2 separate regions of the Homo sapiens genome follow, and region 1 is linked to region 2. Evidence: promoter capture Hi-C in human tissues and cell types (Jung and others, 2019). All regions are on one chromosome and are shown on one strand. The core of a region is centred on a gene start or on the middle of the fragment in contact, and the rest is flanking DNA. Distances in the headings are between cores, read along the strand shown. Region 1 has its middle 110 kb from the start of CNKSR3. Region 2 holds the start of IPCEF1 (interaction protein for cytohesin exchange factors 1).

Evidence for each region. Contacts are between HindIII fragments. The study calls those that stand out against the background at their distance.
Region 1: a contact is called between a fragment that was not itself captured here and the fragment with the promoter of IPCEF1 in region 2, in 1 of the 25 tissues and cell types used here (thymus).

The regions. Positions count from the first base shown.
Region 1 is chr6:154,612,964-154,619,381 of GRCh38, reverse strand. No RefSeq gene overlaps it. Among named protein-coding and RNA genes, the nearest start is that of CNKSR3, 110 kb to the right of the region's middle. RefSeq lists enhancers at 1,452-1,621, 3,514-4,020. The HindIII fragment of the contact is 7,014 bases long and covers 1-5,664 here.
Region 2 is chr6:154,352,230-154,359,051 of GRCh38, reverse strand. IPCEF1 (interaction protein for cytohesin exchange factors 1) reads left to right here and starts at 2,249. Exons shown (of 12, transcript NM_001130700.2): 1 at 2,249-2,380. The HindIII fragment of the contact is 7,632 bases long and covers 1-3,324 here.

The DNA.
Region 1 (6,418 bases), core at 908-3,407, 260 kb before region 2:
AAATCAAAGGGCAGCATGGAAAAGAGAGGTCTGGGAGTTCTTTTTTGCCTGGTTGTTTCGCTTTTGACTGGAACAATGTGTTCTTTCCATAGATGGAAAAAGATTCTGAATTTCAGAATTCACTTGGGGAGTTTTTTAACACCTGCATTAGGAAACATTTATGCATACTCAAGAATTTCCACATTCTTCTGCATTTCTTCACCTCCTATATAAAATATGGTCTCCCACTGGGGCTTTCCCCTGCTCGCTGTGCTGAACTCAAAGCTCAGTTGTTACCTTTATAATGGAATCCTGGGAAAGTTTCCCTTTTCATGAGTGAGGCTCCACCTAGAAGGCGAAAGAATTCACCAAAGCTAGAAGCTGGATGTCGCCATCTAAACTTCTGTGACCATATTTCATTGATTTGGAGGCACACACTTTTTCAAATTATTATTTCCAAAGCTGGGATGTGTGTTTCAATTGGTGGCATCTTACGTTCTATAAAATACAGTATAACAGCCAACAATTTCTGTTAACAGCGATAATTTCATCTCTTTGGAGGTTTCCAAAATCACATTGAGATCCACAGCTATGGAACTCTAAAACGCCTCTCAGTAGCTGTCTTTGTCCTATATACTTAGAGCCCTGTGAATCACTATATGGCTTTCAATCCTCTTAAGATCCTATGACTTGGCTGGGTGCGGTGGCTCACTCCTGTAATCCCAGCACTTTGGGAGGCTGAGGCGAGCAGATCACAAGGTCAGGAGTTCGAGACCAGCCTGACCAACATAGTGAAACCCCATCTCTACTAAAAATACAAAAATTTAGCTGGGCGTGGTGGTGTGCGCCTGTAATTCCAGCTACTCGGGAGGCTGAGGCAGGAGAATCGCTTGAACCTGGGAGGCAGAGGTTGCAGTGAGCCGAGATCGCCTCACTGCACTCTAGCCTGGGTGACAGAGAGAGACTCCATCTCAAAAAAAAAAAAATATTCCTGCAACTTTGGTTAGGATGGTGGTGTATCATTTGAATCAATGAAAGCTGGTTTTTATTTTGTTGTTTGTTTATTTTTGAAGACTAGTTCCTCATTCTTTGCCTGTTACACACAAAACCCACACAAAATAATTATGGTTAATACTTACTTAGTGTGGACTATATAGCAGGCAGTGTTCTAAATATTTGAAATATATTGTTACTGACTCTGCGCAACAACATGAGAAAGTTCCAATTATTATCTCTGTTGAACAGATGCTGAAATGGAAACCTAGAGAGATTAAGTAATCATGTTTAATAATAAGTATTGGAGCAGGGGTTTCAGGCCAAGCAGCCTGGCTCAAGGGCCCATCCTCTTATCATGCATTTATGACAATGTAATTGATAAGCACATAGGCTACAAGGAGACAAACCTCAAGCTAATACCGCCAAGAGCGATTACAGTTGTATTATTATCATGTTATTTGATTTAGTTCTGAGCTCTGAACTTCAGGGATACAATGAAAACTCAATAGAGTTTACTGTCCAGCTGAAAAAAAACCAATATAGAGATGCTCAGAGATAGACAACTGGGCCAGGATGTGAAAGGCAGGATATAGCGGCCATCTTTGTTTTAACTTCTCTATGCTTGAGTATTTTTGTAAATTACCTCACATGTGTCATTGCCTTAACTATCCAACCCTATCATTCCGTTTTCCTCAGACTTGTCTGAAAATAGGTGTTGGCTGTTTTTGAAGGTCGAGGCCAACCTCAAAGAGTAAGGATTTTTCACCACTGAAAAATTTCAAAAGAATATGCTGTGGTCTGTGAAGGTAATTCTAAAAGAAGCTCTCCTACATTTTTAAACAATGGAAAGCTCACTGGAAAAAGCGGATGTTCTCCGGGACTGACCTCTTTAAATGGAGACATGCTCTTTAGATGCTCTAGTCATGGATATTTATTTTTAAATATGGTGTGTTTTATGGTTAGAGTTCATAGATTACTTAAAACAGGATTAACCTCTTAATACATTGCAGAGATGATTAAACTACATGCCTATCCTTTGCTTGCATTCTTCAAGAAAAGTGATGCAATATATTTTCCTTTTGGTTTTGAATCCACAGTTGGTAAGGATATCATTTGGTTTTCTATCCTAAAAGTCTATTTGTATGTCATTATTCTAGATCAAGATTGTGCTATAGAATAGATTCTCCTGACAAAAGGAAAATTCCAACTTATCCCATGAATAAAAAATAGATTCTATTTGAATAATCGAACAACATGCCAATATTTTCCCTTTATTTCTCATTTTACTTTATTAATCTATTGATCTATCAACTAGACTCCCAAAAGGTCAATTAAAATGTCAATATATTTTTGTGTAGTATTGTCATTATTATTTCTTTCTTTCTTTTTTTTTTTTCTCGAGACAAAGTCTCACTCTGTCCCCCAAGCTGGAGTGCAGTGGCATGATCTCAGCTCACTGCAACCTCTGCCTCTTGGGTTCAAGTGATTCTCCTGCCTCAGCTTCCTGAGTAGCTGAGAATACAGACATGTACCACCACGCCCGGCTAATTTTTGTATTTTAAAATTTTGTAATTTTTTGTATTCTAAAATTTTGTAATTTTAGTAGAGATGGGGTTTTGCCATGTTGGCCAGGCTGGTCTTGAACTCCTGACCTCAGGTGATCCGCTCGCTTCGGCCTCCCAAAGTGCTGGGATTACAGGCATGAGCCACCACACCCGTCTGTCATTATTATTTTATACAAATGTTAATCTTGCCCTCCAGGTGCATTCAGAGAGGCAAAGTATTCTTTTGGTACCCAGTAAGGCTCCACTCTTTCCTGTGGGCCACAGTACAGGATTATGGAGATGGAGTTGTGTTGGAATTGACGGTGGCTAGTTGAAGACTGGACTGTGGCCCAAGCTCCTTTCTTCCTATTCCGTAAACCTATATGTTACTCCTACATGTTAAGTGGGTATTCTGGGTTCCAAAAAAATTATGTAAAAGTCACAAAAACATTTTTAAACATTCAACAATCAGCCATTTTGATTCTTGAATTGGGCATTATTTCCAATCAAGTAAATTTTGGCAAAAATTTTTTTAGTTGTGAAATGTTTATTAAATACCCACTATGTAGGCCAGGCATAATAATTGCATTTTATCCTTATTTCTCTGCCTTTGGAGCTTGGATGTTGCTGTGAATCTGAAGAACATTTTAGATTTCCTCACACGTGAACTGGAGGCTAAGGTGGGATGGATAGTGAGCTATTTTTTTTCCATATTAATTTTTAAGTTTTAAAGAATTTAAGTTTTAATCAACTATAACTTTATATGAAAATGCTCCTCATTAGGGTAACCAAAAGCCCAGCTGTTTTAGGCCTGAAGAGAGTGATTTACTTATCTCATGTAAGTGATTTATTGAGAGAGAAGCCTCTACCGAAGTGAGGAAACAGCAAGAGAAGAAGCAAAGACGCGGCTTTTGCGGAAGCCCAAGGGTGGCTCTGCAACGTGCGGGGCGCCCCATACGTGGCCCCCATCCAGCAGGGGGGTTGTGCTCTGCAGCTCCGCCAGGGCCTTGCCGGAGGCACATCACCTCCTGGAGGCAGCAACCTCCCAGGAGCTGAGCACGGTTCTTCCGAGAAGGAGGCAGCTGTGAGCCACCAGCAGCCGCCACTCACCACAGCAGTGGGGTGGAGGCACTGCCTGGTGAAGGAACTGGGCAAGACGCCAACAGTGTCCACAACAGGCTCCAAGGAAGCCGGAGAGGGAGCAATCAGCAGTGATCTCAAAGAAATGAGAAACTGCCATTTGGCTGCCTGTTGACTTCTGGAATTATCCAGTTTAGGTAATAAAGAGACGTTGTTTATTGATTGGGAAAAGTGAATCTGCACATAACTGTGTTTAAAAATCAAGAAGCAAAGGGGACTTGAATACTCTTACCATAGACTTTTGAGAAGTTGAAGTTTATTGCTAATTTAGTAAACCTGAGATCAAGTTGTCCATCTTCTCCTAAACTGCTTTTGGTACCTTTCTGGGGGAAGTGGAGTCTAGTTGAAGATAAAAAAAAAATTCCCAGCAACCAATATCTGTTTTATTAGCAACTGAAAGGAAAATTTTTTTTTCTTTTTAAAAAGTAATGATTTGATTTATTTGATAAAATACCAGAACAACTGCATGCTCATTGGTATCATTCAGAGTTCTAAGAGGTAAAGAAAGACAATCATTTCATCTCTACACACCCTCCTGAGGTTACCACCATTAAGGGTTTAGTATTATTTTACCCATTTCACAATGTGAATATAAACACAGAAAACATACAACATTCTTAGGGCTTCCTTTTCTATTTTTTAATAAAAGAGAGTACTTTTTTTTTTTTAAAGTAGATATATGACATGGTCTGACCCAGGGTTCAGTGAGCAGGCTTTGTGCTTACTCTGCTTTCAAATGATTAAAAATAAAATTCCATGCGTAGGGACACAGAGGTAAGGGTCATAGGATATCACATCTGGTCAAGAGGAAACGTGGCCCTCGGTCAGGGGAAGAGGACTGAAACAGCGGCACTGTGAGGTTGATGCCCTTGACCACAAGATCAGTCTTTAGGGTTTTGAACTACTTAAGATCCTGACTATTTTGAAGTCACTTTGGCAGTGAGCTGACATGTTTTATTTTTATGTTTTGGACCATATCTTTGGCAGGCTATCTGTTGTTCTTCCCTATGACTCTATGCAGAGGCAGCATCAACATTTCCCTTCTTGAAAACAAGCTGGTGTTTTACTTTAGTAGACACTACCCTGAATCCCTGAGTCAAGGAACTGTTTAGAACTGAAAGGGGACCATGCAGATATGGCCACCCCACTCTAGGCCAGTGAGTGTGAGACACGTGCCCTTGTCCACGCAGCACGTCGTTTTGAGGTTCTGATAGCTTGTCCAACCTCCTGGCACTTCACTGGCCCCACTTGTGTTTTACTATTTTACTGATGAGGAAATAGAGGCTCAGAAGTTTGCATAACTCTCCCGAGGTCACACAGTTAGACCGTGGGATGCTCTTGAGTCTGGGTTTGTTTAACTCCAGATGCCATGTGTCTTTCACTGCATCATATCCACCCATAATCCTGTGCCCGGATGTTTTACCAAATGGTGGAAATGACACATCTATCCACATGAAACAACTCTATCCAGATATTGAGTTGAGAGAAACAAAGTGAGTCAAGATTGAAGTGGATATGATTAAAAGAAGGTAGGATTGCAAGCCACTCGATTTGAATTCCAGGGCAGCTATGTGGTCCTAGACAAGTCACCTAACTTCACTGGCCTCAGTCCCTCATTTGGTAATTAAGGGTGTGAGCAATAGAGTAGAAGTTCCAGTGCTAACATTTCTGATTCTGGTTGAGGAAGCTGGAAGGAAAGCCATATGAACTTGGTCTTAAAGGGAGAAGTGAAGGAATGGCTGACGGACAGTCCGGATTGAGGGAGTAAAGTAAGCAAAGGCTCAGAGATGAGTTCAGACACACTATATTCCTGGGACTGTGATAGATCTCATAGCATTTGTTCACAAAGTAAGTTAGTGTGCTTGGATAAAGGGCTAGACCTATGCCAAGTAGGAAGTATTTGGAGACACCTACATACCCCACTCATTGTTGTGGATCTCATATCTATTCCCCACCCTGCCACCCCACCATAAAAGCTTTCTTATTATCCACTCTGAGAAGGTGAATTGGAAGTTTAATAATTCTTAAGAGAAGCTTTTTCTTATTGACAAGGAAAAAGATCTAATGTGGACTAGGGATTTGGGAAACTTGTGCACATGTGCTGAGTCAGGAGGTTTGAGCTTATCTCTCCTACTATCTGGTTGGGTGTCAATTCCATTGAAGCAATAATTATGAAGGGCTGATTACACATATGACGTTATGGCTAAAAGCAGCCCACAGCCTAATGAGTCATGAGCTAAAGGACTGTGAAACTCCTAAGAGCTGTGAGCAGGAGCTATGGGAAGTGAGTGGCTAAACCAGGCCAGAGGCACCGGAGAAGACTTCCCATAGCAAGCGTCATTTGAACTGTACCTTGAAAGAAGGAAAGAGGAAGGAGGGAAAAACAAACCAGATGAAGGGAAGAGCATGAGGAAAAGCACAAAAGCATGACGTGCACAAGGTGATCAGGAAATGACAAGCCCTCTCTGACACTGCAGGATCCGCCACATGGAGGGTTGGAGAAGGCACGTCGTTGAACATGGGCTAAGGTCTCATCCTGGCTCTTCATGTTCTGAGCAAATGTTTCTGAACTGTTAAGGCACGTGAATGGCCACACCATGTCCTGTGGCGTAGCGTGGGATTCTGCAATTGTACCCAGATTGTCGTCACATTATGGTTGCAGGACAGAAAAAATGGAATAAGGCATCTGACTGAAATCAAATGGCAAACTGAGCAGGTTTATTGAGGTTAATGGGCTAAAACACAGAAGGGTGTGGAAC
Region 2 (6,822 bases), core at 1,000-3,499:
AGTGCAGTGGCGCGATCTCAGGTCACTGCAACCTCCGCCTCCCAGGTTCAAACGATTCTCCTGCCTCAGCCTTCTGAGAAGCTGGGATTACAGGCTCGTGCCACCAGGCGTGGCTAATTTTTTGTATTTTTAGTAGAGACAGGTTTCACCATGTTAGCCAGGATGGTCTCGATCTCCTGACCTCATGATCTGCCAGCCTGGGGCTCCCAAAGTGTTGGGATTACAGGTGTGAGCCACCGTGCCCGGCCCTATAAACTTTTTATACTTTTCTCATTTTAACGGAGTCTTTGGGGAGGGAGGGAGCAAATCTGTGGTCAGCCCGTCATCTTGAACTGACAGTCCGGCCGTTTTGAGGATTATTCTAATTCTACAAATCATCTTTGCTCAAAGAATTTAAGTGGCTCTATTCTGGCCCCATAAAGGTAAATAACATGTCTTTTGAGGATATCTTTGATGATGGCATCTAAATGTCTGGTGAGAAGCCAGGCCATGCTGTTGATACCACTAAATTCCTTTAATATCACCTAGTACCATTTTTTTTTCTACGTAAAGCAGGGAACTAGAAGACAACTCAATATAGGGAGAAGATGAGGCAGCACTTCCAGAAATAGAAGTGTACACAAACAAGAAGCCGCTGAGAGAACCTTCATTTTGTTCCTGCTCAAAATGTACAGCATCTTCTTTCATTTTTTCACTCCTCCACAGATTTAGTTTACATTTTATCTTTGTCTTAGTCATTCAGGCTGTTATATCAAAACACCGTAGCCTGGGTGGCTTACAAACAAAAGACATTTATTTCTCACAGTTCTGGAGGCTGGACATCCAAGATCAAGGCGCCAGCAGATTCATTGTCTGGTGAGGACCTGCTTCCTCGTTCCTAGGTGACTGTCTTCTGGCCATGTCCTCATATGGTGGAGGGGTGGGCAGATCTCCAGGTTCTCTTTAATAAGAAAATTAATACCATTCATGAGGGCACTGTCCTCATGACCTAATCACTCCCCAAAGGTCCACCTCTAAATACAATCACATTGGGGATTAGGTTTCTATATATTCTATATATTCTATATATATATATATATATATATATATATATTTTATATATATATTATATATATATATTTTATATATATATTATATATATATATTTTATATATATATTATATATATATATTTTATATATATATATATTTTATATATATATTTTATATATATATTATATATATTATATATATTTTATATATATATTATATATATTATATATATTTTATATATATAATATATATATTTTATATATTATATATATATAATATATATAATATATATATTATATATATAATATATATATAATATATATATTATATATAATATATATATAATATATATATAATATATATATTATATATATATATTATATATATATATACACATACATATTTATTTATTTATTTATTTTGAGTTGGAGTCTTGCTCTGTCTCCTAGTCTGGAGTTCAGTGGTGCGATCTCGGCTCACTGCAACCTCTGCCTCCCAGGTTCAAGCAATTCTCCTGCCTCAGCCTCCTGAGTGGTTGGGATTACAGGCATCTGCCACCACGCCCAGCTGTATTCATTTCCCTAGAAGGTATAGAGAAACAAGAAGCTGGTGTTGAAAGGGAGATTGGGAGGGCAGGAATTTGTAATGAGATGGAATATCTCTGACTTTCAGCCTGCCATTTTCCTTTTCCAATGTGGGAAAGAAAAGTTTTGTGGTTAGAGACTCTTCTATGTCTACTGCAAAAGATGGCAGGCTAAGACTTATTTTTATCCTAAAATACGTTTTACAAATGTGTCTGTACCCTCTCTTTATTAGAGCATTATGAACGATTAGGAAAGGAGGAAAGAGGGAAATCTGAAAGAAGATTGAACCTAAAGAGGTTGAAGTGGCATTTCACCCAAAAATGCTGAGAATGACTCTGCAGATCATCTCACCCTCCATGCCTGTAAATGAACATCCTTGCCTCCAAAACAGGAAAGCAGAACCATGAACTGTTCCACCAATGTGCTCGGCAAATGAATACACTGGGCAGTGCTTAGTGATCAATGAACTCAGGCAGATGGGGTGTGCTTGCCTTACATGTACTGTGTCCTGGATATGGGCATCAAGGAAGGGTTTCATAACAATGAGAAGGAAGAACGTTAGGATTGAGGAAGTGGAGATGATACTTCCTCTTCTTTCGAAAGAGCTTTACTCTCTGATCAGCTTTGAATGTTAGTTCTGGGTTGACTGAGTTTCCAGAGCTGAGGCTGCTTTAAGTAGAATCCTCAAGCTTGGCCTCAGAGTACTATGAGGCTTCTGAATCCAGGAATAAGACTGCTCTTGGATTTACTCTCTTTGTATTGCATGTAAGTAACGTCACTTCTTGGCTGATGTATGAGAGGTAACTGCTTGACAGATCAAGATGGCAAAGCAATGGATACCCTAGCACTCTCCTTAGAGTAGTGAGGTAGGAAATATGACTTTGGGGATGTAATATTCACTCAGCTCTCTGTAATCTGGGAAGCCAGGTGCTAAAGATTCTTTAATTCTGTGAAAGCTTTGAAAGAGGAGAGAGTTGTGTACTCACTCTGCTTTTATGTTTCTTAAATGGGTGTTGTCTTGATAGGTGTTTAGACTGCAGACCACAGGTTTGATTTAGAAAAGCACAATTCAGCATGTATTTGGGTCCTGAGGAGTTCATTTGGGGAAGCACTCTGGGGCCGCCCTCTTTCGAGAAAGTGTGTTCTTTGCAAGGGAGCTTCCTTTGCATGGAGGCAGCTGGGGGACATTTTACACTTTGATAAAGGTCTCAGGCTTGCCAAAATATCTCTGGTATAAAAATGAAAGCTAGGTGTTGTTGGTTCAGAGTCTTTTAGTAAGGGTGTCTGGGGCACTTGATTTTTCTTTGCTGGGGTATATGTGAAAGTATTTAATTATAGAAGTCAGAATTATAACCCACTGAAGCATCTTTGACTACAGCAGTGGGCTCTATTAGTCTTGAGTGGCCTATGTGTTCCTAGTGCTGTCCTTGATAAAGTCTAATTTCTATCGAGTTATTTATTTTATGTAGAAAATTGAAACCGAGGGCTGGGCACAATGGCTCACACCTGTAATCCCAGTACTTTGGGTGACCACGGCGAGAGGATCACTTGAGGTCAGGAGTTTGAGACCAGCCTGGGGGCAAAATAATGAGACCTCATCTCTACAGGAAGAAAAAAAAAAAGAAAGAAAAGAAAATAGAAAATAGAATGCCGGGTGCGGTGGCTCACGCTTGTAATCCCAGCACTTTGGGAGCCCAAGGCGGGTGGATCATCTGAGGTCAGGAGTTCGAGACCAGCCTGGCCAACATGATGAAACCCCGTCTCTACTAAAAATACAAAAATTAACTGGGCGTGGGAGCATGCACCTGTAATCCCAGCTACCTGGGAAGCTGAGGCAGGAGAATTGCTTGAACCCGGGAAGCGGAGGTTGCAGTGAGCTGAGATTGCGCCACTGCACTTCAGCCTGGGTGACAGAGCAAGAGTTCATCTCAAAAAAAAAAAAGAAAGAAAGAAAGAAAAGAAACAGAAATGGAAAGAACACACATTTCTTTCTGCTCACATCATGCAAGCAAGGAAGAAAAGGGTGTAAGTTTGTGTATGTGTTGATGAACTCATTCTTTAATTTACCTTATAATTTCCTTCCATTCCTCTTTTTATAAATCAAGTGTCTTTTCTGGAGTGGGTCCATGTATGAACTATTTCAGGCAAGCTGTGTTAAGCAAATATACATCATCAGAGTATGGAAATAGGAAGTTCTTTCCTGCGGTAGTTTGCTGTGGCAATAAGAGATAAGAAATTACTTCATCACTATTGCCTGAGACTTTCCTTTTGACTCGTGCATCCTTTTGAACAGCTCACTTCTGCTTTCCATCCAGCTTGGAGGCTCTGCAGTGTGAGCTGATAATTGCAGTACAGGTTAACAATTTGCAAGTAGGTCTAATGTGGCAAATGGTGTGTGTGTGTGTGTGTGTGTGTGTGTGTGTGTGTGTGTGTGTGTGTGAAGAAAAATCCTAAAAAATAAGCTTTTTAGCCTTAAAGAGAATCCTGCAAATGGAGGAGTTACTTGTGCTCCCAAGTGCTCAGAACAGTGCCTGCTCTCAGTAAATATTTGTTGAATGAATGAATAACTGGCATAATTCATAAAATGAATGTGGTAGGAAAGCCATTGCTTTATCTCTGTTACTCAGGCACTTTAAAAAGTGAATGTTAGAAAAGATCAGAGTGGAGGAGGAGAGGAGAATATGAAGGTGTGGAGTAAAGAAAGGGTGTGTAGAACGGGGATCAGAAAAATCCCCAGGTCAGTAAAGTGAAAGGGTTGGCGATACATGGTGGTGGAGGTGGAGGTGGAGATAAAGGGGGTGGTGTTGGAAGTGGTGGTCGTAGGGGAGGTGATGGTGGAAGTGACGGTGGAGATGGTAGAGGTGGTTGTGGAGGCGATGGTGGAGGTGGTAATGGAGATGGTAGAAATGGTGATTGGAGTGGTAGAGGTGATGGTGGAAGTGACGGTAGAGATGGTGGAGGTGGTTGTGGAGGAGATGGTGGAGGTGGTGGTGGAGGAGATGGTGGAGGTGGTGGTGGAGGTGGTGGTGGAGATGGTGGTTGGAGGTGACGGTGGAGGTGACAGATGGTAGAAGTGATGGTAGACATGGTGGAGATGGTTGAGGAAGTGATGGTAGAGGTGATGGTACAGATGGCGGAGATGGTGGTTGGAGGTGATGGTAGTAGAGGTAATGGTGGAGGTAATCATGGGAAGGTCAGTATAATTTAGCCAAGAGAAAACACAGTTGGGGGCTCAGACATATCTGTTCAAAATCTATATCTCTGAACCTACCAGCTCTGTGACCTCCGAACCTATAAAGTGGTGACTATAACATATTGACTTTTTGGGTTGTTGTGTGAGGGTTAAAAATATGATTGCATTAAATGGCAGTTATCGATATCAGTTTTCAAGTTGCCAGAGCCACGCTTAAAAATTTAATCTCTAATTTCTCTTTTTTTCTTTATGCTTTGTGCATTTTCTGAATTTTGTAAAGTGAAAGTGAGTTTTTAAAAGAATCATTAATTTAAAATAAATATGATAAGCCTAGTTATCAGAATGGTTGAACACATGGTGGTATATAAAGAAATGTCATCAAGAAAATGATATTTATGGAAATAGTCTCATGATGTAATGCTAAGTCCAAAAAGGAGGAACATAACTTTTTCAACTATGTAAAAATACTGCAGAGAAGCAAGATTTGGGTGAAATGCATTAAAATGTTAATATATGAGTAGTGGGCTTATAGCTCGTGGTTCTTCTTTCTTTGTACTTTGTACTCTATTTTCTTCCCAGATTTTTCATTAGTGGAACATACCTGAACTATTTTAATAATCTGAAAATAAAACAAACGTTGAAAGAAAGTAAATAGGCCCGGGTGCGGTGGCTCTCATGCCTGTAATCCCAGGACTTTGGGAGGCCAAGGCGGGCGGATCACCTGAGGTCAGGAGTTCCAAACCACTCTGGCCAACATGGCGAAACCCTGTTTCTACCAAAAATACAAAAATTAGCTGGGCATGGTGCGGGCGCACGTAATCCCAGCTACTCAAGAGGCTGAGGCACAAGAACCACTTGAATCCGGGAGGCGCAGTGAGCCGAGATCACGCAGCTGCACTCCAGCCTGGGCAATGAGGGAGACTTCATCTCAAAAAAAAAAAAAAAAAAAAGGAAAAGGAAAAGAAAAGAAATGGACAAAAATGTAACCCTCCTTAAATCTTCCACCAACAGGACGACAAAAGCAATGTTTTAGTGATAGTGTGCTGAAGTTCATGGTTCATTGCAGTCTAAGAAATGACACTTAAAATTTATGTTATTTAGTCTTTGTAGGGAAATCCCCTTTGAGAGTAAGGCTGGTGCAGAATCATGTGTCAACTCTGAAGTGAGAAAAAGGAAACGTGGTCCCACTGGGGCTGGCTGGTCTGATTAATTCCTAGAATGACATGAAAATGGGTTATTTTCTCTGGATGACTTATAACTGCGTCTAAACCTGAGTTTGATGATTTCCTAAAAAATGCAATAGTCAATTTGTCAGTTATTAATTATAAGTTAAATTTAAATCTCCCAATATAATTGTTAATACATTTCTTAGGGAATGTTGCCATATGTTTATCATCTTGGTACTCATAGGGAGAGGTCATAAAAACATTTCTATAGAGTCACAGATTATTTTATAGATTCAAGAATTATCATTCCTGTTGTTAGAATCTTGGCCCTGCCGTCTCACAGGGCCAGCAGGTCACCATGGAGTCCCTTATCAGGGACGTAACCAAAATAAAATATTTTGGCTTGTAGGCATTGAAAAGAATCTTCTGTCTTTGTCTTAGAATCAATCTTTGTCTTAGAAAGGAGAGATAGTCGGCAGACAAAAAGGCAAAGGGCTGAACAAATGTGAGCAAAGACAGGTCTCCCAGACTGACACAGGGATTGACATAGAAGCAGCTGAAAGGTGAAAAGTGAGCCAGCTTAAACTCAGCCCAAAGTTACTAGAATGTGGATGAGTCTTTCAAAAGAAGTCTGAATAAAAAAATGACCAGATCGTCAAGGAAAACTAAGTCAAGTTAGAAATGAAAGAATTAATTGAAGAAACAAAAACCCAGCATGCACTAAGCATTGAAATAGAAACAGCAGCAAGATAGGATTCCCAACAGATTCTATAGCATTTTCTGAATATTTCATACGTGGAATGCTGAATAAAAAACCAATGATATTACTGAGCACTTGCTAGGTTCTA